3 separate regions of the Homo sapiens genome follow, and all the other regions are linked to region 3. Evidence: promoter capture Hi-C in 16 types of primary human blood cells and fetal thymus (Javierre and others, 2016). All regions are on one chromosome and are shown on one strand. Each heading gives the region's core, a stretch centred on a gene start or on the middle of the fragment in contact. The rest is flanking DNA. Distances are from core to core; before and after follow the strand shown.

Region 1 (2,913 bases), core at 280-2,779, 640 kb before region 3:
GTCACCCAACTCAGAGGCCACAGAGAGAAATAAGAGAAGTAGAGCCAGGCCATTGCAAATCTTCCCAAAGACATAAAAGCTGCAGCCCTAGAGACAGGGCAGCTGAGAGGGGAGCCAGTTTTCCCCAGTGCTTGGATGGGTGGGATATGACAGGACTTCTTGGCTCTGGTCATATCTGAGGCTGACCCAGGGAACTAGCTGGCCTTTGGGCAGACTTGGGGGTCCTGTTCTAATTTGGCTGGAGAGAAGTCCATGAAAGGCAAAAAAAAGTTATTTTCATGCACTGGGCACCAAAGGAAATTGATGGCAAAGACAGAACATGTTTTCCTGTAGGCTGAGTGTAAGCCCTCATTAGGCAGAGGAGCCAGAGCTTATTTATAGAGAAGCACTACCATTTTGTTATGTATGGGCAGCAAGTCCAGCGAATTCTCATCAAGCAGGTTGTACAAGCTCTGATTACAATGAATTTTCATGGAATTAGTCTCTGAGCACAGGACCTTCGGGAGTGTGTAGAGTCATCTTGACCCTGTGGGGAGGTAGAGATAGAGCCTTGCAGACTTCACTACTGCCAGCCCCCTAGTACTGCTGGCCTCTCCCCCTCCCCCCTTCTTTTTCCATTTTTCTCTCCCCCTTTCTTTTCTTCTTCCACCCCTCCAGATCCTCACTGGGGTGACTCAATGCTGTTGTCAAGCCACAAAACCACCCTGACCCCCACTTTACACATCTAGAGGGATGATATTTACTTAGCAGGGTTATAATGAGGCCTGAATAAATAGCATATATGAATGTCCTTGCATAGAGGAGACACGATAATTATTTGGTAGGAAAGAAAGAAGGTGAAAAGAAGGCAGTTGCTTAAGTGCTACTCAGTATATGGAAAAATAAATCACTCAATGGAAAGTTCATCACGGGTAGGATGAGAGGAGGGTGAGTCAGAGCAAACTAACGGAGGAGTGTGATGTTGGAAGGTGCAGGTTGCCTCTGCTGCTGCTGACGTTATTTGAAAGAGATATAAGACTAAATCTCTAGTTAGTGGTAATTAGAGGAGCTCCCTAGGCACTTCATGTAGCTGGGATGGTAGCCTTCTTGTCCTGCCTGAAATCAATTCCAGTTTGTATAATTACGTCCAGACAGCAGGGTCCCAGCTGCAAGGTTTTACACAAAATATTTTCTCCATTGTACTTTCTATAATTAGTATTTCACGTAGGTGAGTGGGGGAAAAGGCCACAGTATCCCACCTGGTATCCTTTTCTTTTTTAGGGCAGATGGATAAATTCCTTGACATATTCTGACATTAGGAAAGTCTTGAGAATGCATGAAAATTAAAAGATGTTTTGCAAGTATTTTTCATTTTGCTTTCTGATATGCTCTTCATAACAATGAAATATATGAGGTCGTGGATCCTAAAAGTACAGGATGATGCCATCTTGATCACTGTCACCTGTTATGGACTAAACTGTGTCCCCCACAAAATTCACATGTTAAAGCCCTAATGCCCAATATGACTGTATTAGGAGATAGAGCCTTTAACGAGGTAATAAGGTTAAATGAGGTCATAGAGGTTGGACCCTAATCTGATAGAACCGGTGTCCATATAAAAAGAGGAAGAGACAACAGAGATCTCTCTCTCCTCACATGCTCAGAGAAAAGGCCATGTGAGCACACAGTGAGAAAATCACCAAACACAAGTCAGAGAGCCCTCATTAGAAACTAACCCTGCTGGCACCTTCGTCTCAGACTTCCAGCCTCCAGACTGTGAGAAAAAACCTGTTGGCAGCTGAGGATTCTCAACATGGTGCTGTAGGTTGAATTCAGTGGAGCCTCCACTCTCCAGGGCTTATCTCGAGGTGGGCTGCTGTGTTCCATCATGAACACAGAAGAAAGCATCTCACAGCAAGTTCCCTCATATGCTTGGCTACATTTGTTTTTCATGAGCATGGCTGTAGTGACCACAAAGAGCTCTATAGCTTAGTCCATGTTTCCTATTGCTGGTTTTAGTTTCCTATTTTTGCTGAAACAATTTACAACACACTTAGTGGCTCAAACAACACAAATTTATTCTCTTACCATTTTGGAGGCAAAAGCAAAAAATCAGTTTGATTGAGCAAATATCAAGAGGTTGGTGGGGTCGTTCCTTCTGGAGGTTCTGAGGGGAGAATCTGTCTCCTTGCTTTTTTCAGCTTTTAGTGGCTGACTGTATTCCTTGGCTTGTAGTTACTTCCTCCTTCTCCAAAACACATTGCTCCAGCCTCTGGTTTCATCTTCAGGAGTCAGTCTTCTCCTCTGGCTCTGACTCCTCTTGTGTCCCTCTTGTAAGGACAACTGTGACTGTATTGGGCCTACCTGGCTAATCCAGGACAATCTACCCATCTCAATCCCTTGATCTCATCTGCAAAGTTCCTTTTGCCATATTAGGCAATATTCACAGGTTCTGGGGGATGAGATTAGGACATGGACATCTTTGGAAGAGGCATGATTCAGCCTACCATACTATTCCTACACCTCACACTCCTAAGCACAAACCCCTTATAGAGACCACCCCATTTGCAGCTCTCTGCAGGCTCAGTATATCCCTCCTGAGTGGATTGAATATTTTTTCCTTGAACATCCAGGTCTTATGCCACGCCACCTCCTCCAGGAAGCCTTCTCTCCCTTCTCCAACTCACTTTGACTTCTCATAGTACTTAAATAAGAACTCCATTATTTGGGTCTAATATGTTATGTTGAATTTTAACTCTATTTTGTTTCATATATATTTGTCTTTTTTCTCTAACCAAGCTATATGTTTTTTATCTAAGTTCTGCATATTTTCTCTATGTTCTTCTTCCTCGTTCCCCTGAAATACTTTCTTTGGCCTCTAGGTGGCCTTCTCCTTTATTCTCCCTATCCATTTCAGGTTCTGTGTCATCCAAC
Region 2 (3,128 bases), core at 48-2,547, 580 kb before region 3:
TTTCTCCCCCAAACCCATACCTCTATACTATGCATGAGAAAAATATCAGGCAGTTTCCAATAGAGGAGCATCCTACATCATAGCTGACCAATACTCCTCATAACTGTCAAGGTCATCAGAAACAACAAAAGTCTGAGAAACTACCGGAGCTTAGAGGAACTTGTGGAAACCTGAGAACCACAAGTTATGTAGTATCAAGGATGAGATCCGGAAACAGAAGAAGAACATTAAGTAAAAACTAAAGCAATCTAAATAAACTATGAATTTTAATTAATAATAGTGTATCAACATTGGTTTGCTCATTTTAAGAAATGTACTATCCTAAAGTAAGATGTTAATAATAGAGAAACTGTATATGTGGGGATATATGAGAGCTTTCTGTACTATTTGCTTATTTTTTCTATAAATCTAAAACTGCTCTAAAAATAAAGTCATTAATAAAAAGTTACTGCAAGAATAAAAATAAAGGTAAAATAAATACTGTTTCAGACATACAAAATCTGAAAGGATCCATAAACATCAGAAATGTGCGATAAGGAAAAAAAATGTTTTAAAGAGTCCTTTAGGCAGAAGGAGAATGATAACAGATGGAGATAGGGGTTATAAAAATAAATGAAAAGCAATACGACCAGTAACTACATGGGCTGACTTTTTTCCTTATGATTTAAATATTTAAAAAATATAATTAACTGTTTAAAAGAAAAAAATAGAAACAACACATTGTGGAGCTAATATGTATAAACAGATTTATAGCCCACAATAGCATAAGGCTAGGAGGGGAGAAATGGGAATATATTGTTATAAGATTCTTATACTACACATATTTGAAGCTATACTATGGTAAGATAAAGAGGTATACTATAAATACTAAAACAGCCATTAAACAAAGCTATGTCCAATAAGCCACCAAAGAAGAAAAAATAAAATCATGTAAATAATTAATTTATGATAAGGCAGAAAAAAATAAACTAAGGACAGATTGCCCAAATAGAAAACAAGGTGGTAGACTTAAACCCAACCATCTCAGTAGTCACATTAAATGTAAACGGTGTAAATACACCAATTGAAGCCAGCAATTGCAGGATTAGGTTTAAAAAGGAAGATCAAACTATGTGCTGTCCATGAGAAATCGATTCTTTTAGATTCACTTTTTATTTATTTATTATTGATACAAGGAAACTCACTTTTAATATAAGTGGTTCAGGGCAGGAGACAGGGATGAAGAGGTGAAACGCAGGGAATTTTTAGGGCAGTGAAACTGTTCTGTGTGATACTATTATGATGGATACATGACATGACATGTTTGTCAAAACCTATAGAACTTTACAAGACAGAGCAAAAATAAAAGGATGAAAAGCGATGGTTAAAAGTAAAAGGATGGAAAAGTGATGACATAGAAACATGAGTTGAAAGGAAGTTTGAATGGCTATATTAATATCAAAGTAAATTTCACAAAAAACAAAATTATTTAGAATAAAAACTGTCACTTCACAAAATAATAAAATGTCAATTAACTAAGAAGACATGCAATTCTAAATATTTATGCACTTAATAACAGAATAAAAGCTGCCACTTCAAACAATTGGCATGATATAAAGTTTGCATTACCCATTAGAATAGGCTCTAAGTGTGTTGTTTCAAGACTTTGACTCTTAAGTTTTTCGGTTTTTCTCAACAACTCACTATATCCCTGAACTTTGAACACTATGAGTCAGTTCTGCTGAATCTTAAAAAATGGTGATATTTTGACATTTGCTGTGATTGTCTTCATACATACTTTTATGAGAAAATACAAATAAGAGAGAATAGTCTGGATTTGTTTTAACTGCAAATGTTAGTCATTGATTTAGCAAGATCTTTATAATGAAAGTTCTGTGGTCTATTTCCTATACAATTCAGAGTGATATGCTGCTACCATATTGACCAAATATGAAGTGCTTCCTCTTTGGGTGACCTGATAGCAGCAGAATACCTCTCTGAGTCATTTGATATTGATTTTTGATCTTCACTTCCTGAGATTTTTTTTAAACCCCAAACTGCAAATTAGAGTAACTTGATATTTCTATGTCTTATGATGTGATACAGAGACAGTATCCCAAAGCTCATTTCATTTCTGAGGGAGCGGTGTGTGTGTGGGGGGGTCTTATGTATGAGTGAAGAGACAGTGTTTCAATGTTACATTTTCTGTTTTTTTTTTAATTTAAAAAAACAGATGTTGCAAAACAAGATTGAGGTTAGTCCAGGACCATTTTTAACTACTTGAACATCTCCAAATCTGCACATTAATTCTGACTATATTATCAATTCAGAAATTCAAGAGATGTTCCAAAGTTTAATAACATCTTCAAATGCTTTTAGGTAATTGGTCATTTACTTTGCTAGCCTAGTGTTTGTTGTTTTTAATCTGCATGCTTTTCAGTGATGTCCAAAGCAAGTTGATTTCCAAAAGGCTTTCCAAACCTTATCTTTTCTAACAGATAAATATGAGAAAAGCAAAATTCTTTTACTTTCAGATAGGTATGATATAAGGATCATATCCACATATTGCTACGTAGTTTCATACCTCTATCAATTACTATTCACTCACCTCCTTTCCTAGATGCTTCAAATTAACTGGTAATTGTATCCCTTTAAAGAGCCCATCCCTAGAACTTGACACTGCTCTTGATAACCTATGTGGAGGTTTGAAAGGAAGCTACTCGCGGGAAGGCTTGAAGGACACCAGGTGACCTGGTTTGTCTAACAAACAGTTTTTCTTTTGCTGGCTGTTTAACCAGTCTTTGCCTTGTGTGTAGATTGCATGCTCTGACTGGGGTTTTCAGAGGGGTGGGAGAGAAAACAGATAGAGCCTGCCTACTAGAGAGGTGGAGAAGAATGAGGCCAAGTGAAAGAGAGGGCTGAAAGCATGAAAGCTACTGCAGGGAGATATTTTAGGGGAGGAGTTGACAGGATCAATATGGATATAAAGGATGCTTTTGCTACATGATATACAATATAATTTTGCTCCCCCCCTCAAAAACATTAGCAAATATAAAAATTAGGTATCTACAGTTTTGATGGGGAAAATGTGCTGAGACTGGTCTTGGGAAAAAAGAACCATGGCCCAAGTGACCGAGTGACAATCAGAT
Region 3 (2,951 bases), core at 123-2,622:
TATAAACTTTCCCGGGGAATCCCAGTAGAACAGAACATGGTTTTATAAGCTGAGGGTAAAAACAAGCGTCTCAGTTTTTTTATTAAAAGAACTTTTTTAAACTGCCTTTCAACAGTTTGAAAGCTTTCAATGGTTTGTTTTATCTGGTGTTTCTGATCAACCAATTAATCCATCCTCTGACAGGAACCCATCTGTCAGTCTATCCACACACAATCTGAAAGGGACTCCAGATTAGGCTCCCTCTTTTAGCCACGCCTACACAGGAAGCATCCTGTGGATGGAATGGAAAGTATGCCAGGCCTTTGCACGCCCCTCACGCCCCCATCTCCTTCGCTTAACCTCGACAGCCTCTTACCTTTAAACCCTAGCTAGGTTTTCACACAGCCCTATCAAATAAAAAGGACAATACTCAAACTGAATTAGAGAATGAGAATTGTCGAGGTTTCTTTTAATTTAGATCAATGCCAGTTTTACTCTTCTTCTAGAGTCCTTTTTAAGGAGATATCATCCCCACCAGTTGTGATCCCAGAGAATCACAACAGGGCATGGCGTAGGAAAGACCTCGAAGCTCAATTCTCTATTATACCATGCCCACCATACGAAAGGCATTTAACCTCCCGCGTGATTTTGTCCTTAAGATGCTCCACAAGATCTAACACAACTCCTACATCTAAGAGTCGACTCACTAATTTCAAGGGTTTTTGTTTTTGTTTTTGTTTTTATAAGCTCTGCGTGTGGCACCCGATAACTTCAAGTTTAGAGTGAGCAGTTTCCTCCCAATGCCGTTTGCTCAACTACAGTACTAGGAGTTTTGAGGAGCAGCTCTCTAGCGAGTCCTCCTGCTGCGTCCTCCCCCACACGCACGCACCAAGTTCCACAGCTTCCGCAGCCGTCGGGGAACAAAGTCCTTATTTGGTCACGGCCATCCCCTTACATAGTGGAGGTGGAGATCCTCCTCTCCAAGGACCACCCGCGTAGGGCGAGATTCCCCAATTCTGACTTTTCACTACTATCCCCCACAGGGGCGGGGCTCCAACTCCAGGTAACCAGACCAGGCAACCTGGACTTCCAATTAGCAGGGGAGTCCCCAAGCCAGCCTGGCCAATCTCGGCCGGCTAGCCAAGACGACCAGACGTGACGTCAGACATGATTAAGTTGGCGCGTCACCTAGACGTCAGCCTCTTACCTCTCGGACGTCCCGTCCCAGGAGCAAAACTCTAGTGACTTTGGGCCCGCCCCCGTGAGAGTGGAGGGCGGCCGATGAGGGCGGTTCTGAAGGGAACAAGACCAATGAGACGAGCCCGGGGCGGGGCGCGGGGCCGGAGGGTGGGGCGGGTGGCGGCGGTGGCAGTCCGAGGTCTGGCTCCGCGCAGTATATGACAGTACGTCAGCAGCGGGATGGCCCTAGCAGTGGCGGCGGCTGCAGAAGCCCAAGCAGCCGCGGCCGCAGTGGAGGCTAGAGCCGGAGCGGCGGCGGCGGCGGCACCCCGGGGAGTTTAAGATGGCGGCGGGGGGGACAGGGGGCCTGCGGGAGGAGCAGCGCTATGGGCTGTCGTGCGGACGGCTGGGGCAGGACAACATCACCGTACTGCATGTGAAGCTCACCGAGACGGCGATCCGGGCGCTCGAGACTTACCAGAGCCACAAGGTGAGCGGGCCGGCCGGCAGGCTGGGCTCAGAGAGGCAGAGCGCACCCCTCACGGCCTGGCCGCGCCCGGGTGCGGGGCCGGCGGAGCCGTGGCTGGCAGCTGCTACCGTCAGCGCCCGCAGCGGCCAGGCAGGGCAGGGCCGGGCAGGGTGGCTGACGCCGCGGTCCCGGGCTAGCCTGGGCGTTGGGGAAGCGGGCAGTCGGGCGGCCCCTGGCGGCGGGGCCGAGGCAGCCGCAGCCCTGGGTCGGCTGCGCTGCCGCTGCGGGACTTTCCGACGGCCCCCGAGGATTTCCTGGCTTGTTGGGTCCCAAGGAGGGAGAGAGGCCCCGATAAGAGAAGTGAGATGACCACGCTACCCTCGGCGGGGAAGGAGGGTAGCGAGCAGCGTATGGGCAAGGAACCAGGGACGACTCGCGGGCACCAGCTGCCCGCGTTTTCCAGTTACATAGGCACGGTGGATCCTCAGAGACAGGACACAGGCGCTCCGCGTGTGGGGGTGGGACCTTGTATTCCCAGGGACTTGGGGACACAGGCGCTCCACGTATCAGGGGACACACTGTGTGCTCGAAGGGATGGGGACTCGGGCGCATGGTGAGGGGCACACGGTGTACTCATAGAGATAGGGACTTAGGCAGTCCGTGTAAGGGGGCGGCGCACACTGGAACGGCGGGGACACTGGCGCTTCGCGTACGGGGGGGGAGGGGACACACCTGCATTCCCAGGGACTCCGGGACACCGGCGCATCGCGTTACTGGAGACGCGCCGCGTCCAGGACGGACACAAACCAACACAGTGCCCTGGGGAGAGACCTGAGGACTCACGCACACTTAGCGCTCCCCGGGAGCAAGACATCGGGTTCTGGAGAGAGAGGTTCACGGACGCTCAACGTACCCGAAAAAGCTCCCGGCGTCTTGGGCTGACTCTGGGAAGTGTAAACGGGGAACGAGCCAGAGCCAGAAGGTGTGGGGAGGATACAATGCATCCCGGGCAGAGACTCGGGCCTCTCACCCCTCGTTTTCGAGAGAAGCCCATGGACACACACACACACATATACACACACACCCCTCCAGTACAGAGAGAGGCTCAGATAGGCGCACATACACTGTAATTGGACTACAAATCCAGACGCTTTCATGTTGGAAAAAAAATGGGAGAGACAGGGAAGCACCGAGAAGGGACGCGGTAACCAGGGTGCATGGGGAAACAGTTTATGGACATGCAGTACTGTGGGAGACCGGAGTGGATACATCGCGTGAGGGAGGGATATGCCATATGGGGGAACCTGTAACGTTTTACAGGAGA

The links. The method cuts DNA at HindIII sites, captures the fragments that hold promoters and counts their contacts. A CHiCAGO score of 5 or more calls a contact.
Region 1: a contact is called between a fragment that was not itself captured here and the fragment with the promoter of ELL2 in region 3, in 8 of 17 cell types (M2 macrophages, M1 macrophages, M0 macrophages and 5 more). The highest score is 8.9, in M2 macrophages.
Region 2: a contact is called between a fragment that was not itself captured here and the fragment with the promoter of ELL2 in region 3, in 3 of 17 cell types (naive CD8 T cells, total CD4 T cells and naive CD4 T cells). The highest score is 6.6, in naive CD8 T cells.

What each region holds. Positions count from the first base shown.
Region 1 is chr5:96,595,632-96,598,544 of GRCh38, reverse strand. All of the region lies in intron 4 of LOC101929710 (a long non-coding RNA gene), which reads right to left. It also overlaps a transcript of CAST not described here. Among named protein-coding and RNA genes, the nearest start is that of CAST, 65 kb to the left of the region's middle. The HindIII fragment of the contact is 7,507 bases long and covers 1-2,913 here.
Region 2 is chr5:96,537,746-96,540,873 of GRCh38, reverse strand. All of the region lies in intron 4 of LOC101929710 (a long non-coding RNA gene), which reads right to left. It also overlaps a transcript of CAST not described here. Among named protein-coding and RNA genes, the nearest start is that of PCSK1, 110 kb to the right of the region's middle. The HindIII fragment of the contact is 4,378 bases long and covers 1-3,128 here.
Region 3 is chr5:95,960,272-95,963,222 of GRCh38, reverse strand. ELL2 (elongation factor for RNA polymerase II 2) reads left to right here and starts at 1,372. Exons shown (of 12, transcript NM_012081.6): 1 at 1,372-1,648. The coding sequence starts at 1,502. LOC101929710 (a long non-coding RNA gene) reads right to left here and starts at 1,222. Exons shown (of 5, transcript NR_130776.1): 1 at 1,187-1,222. It also overlaps a transcript of CAST not described here. RefSeq lists silencers at 816-1,283, 1,239-1,478, 1,549-1,958 and an enhancer at 763-1,520. The HindIII fragment of the contact is 3,633 bases long and covers 126-2,951 here.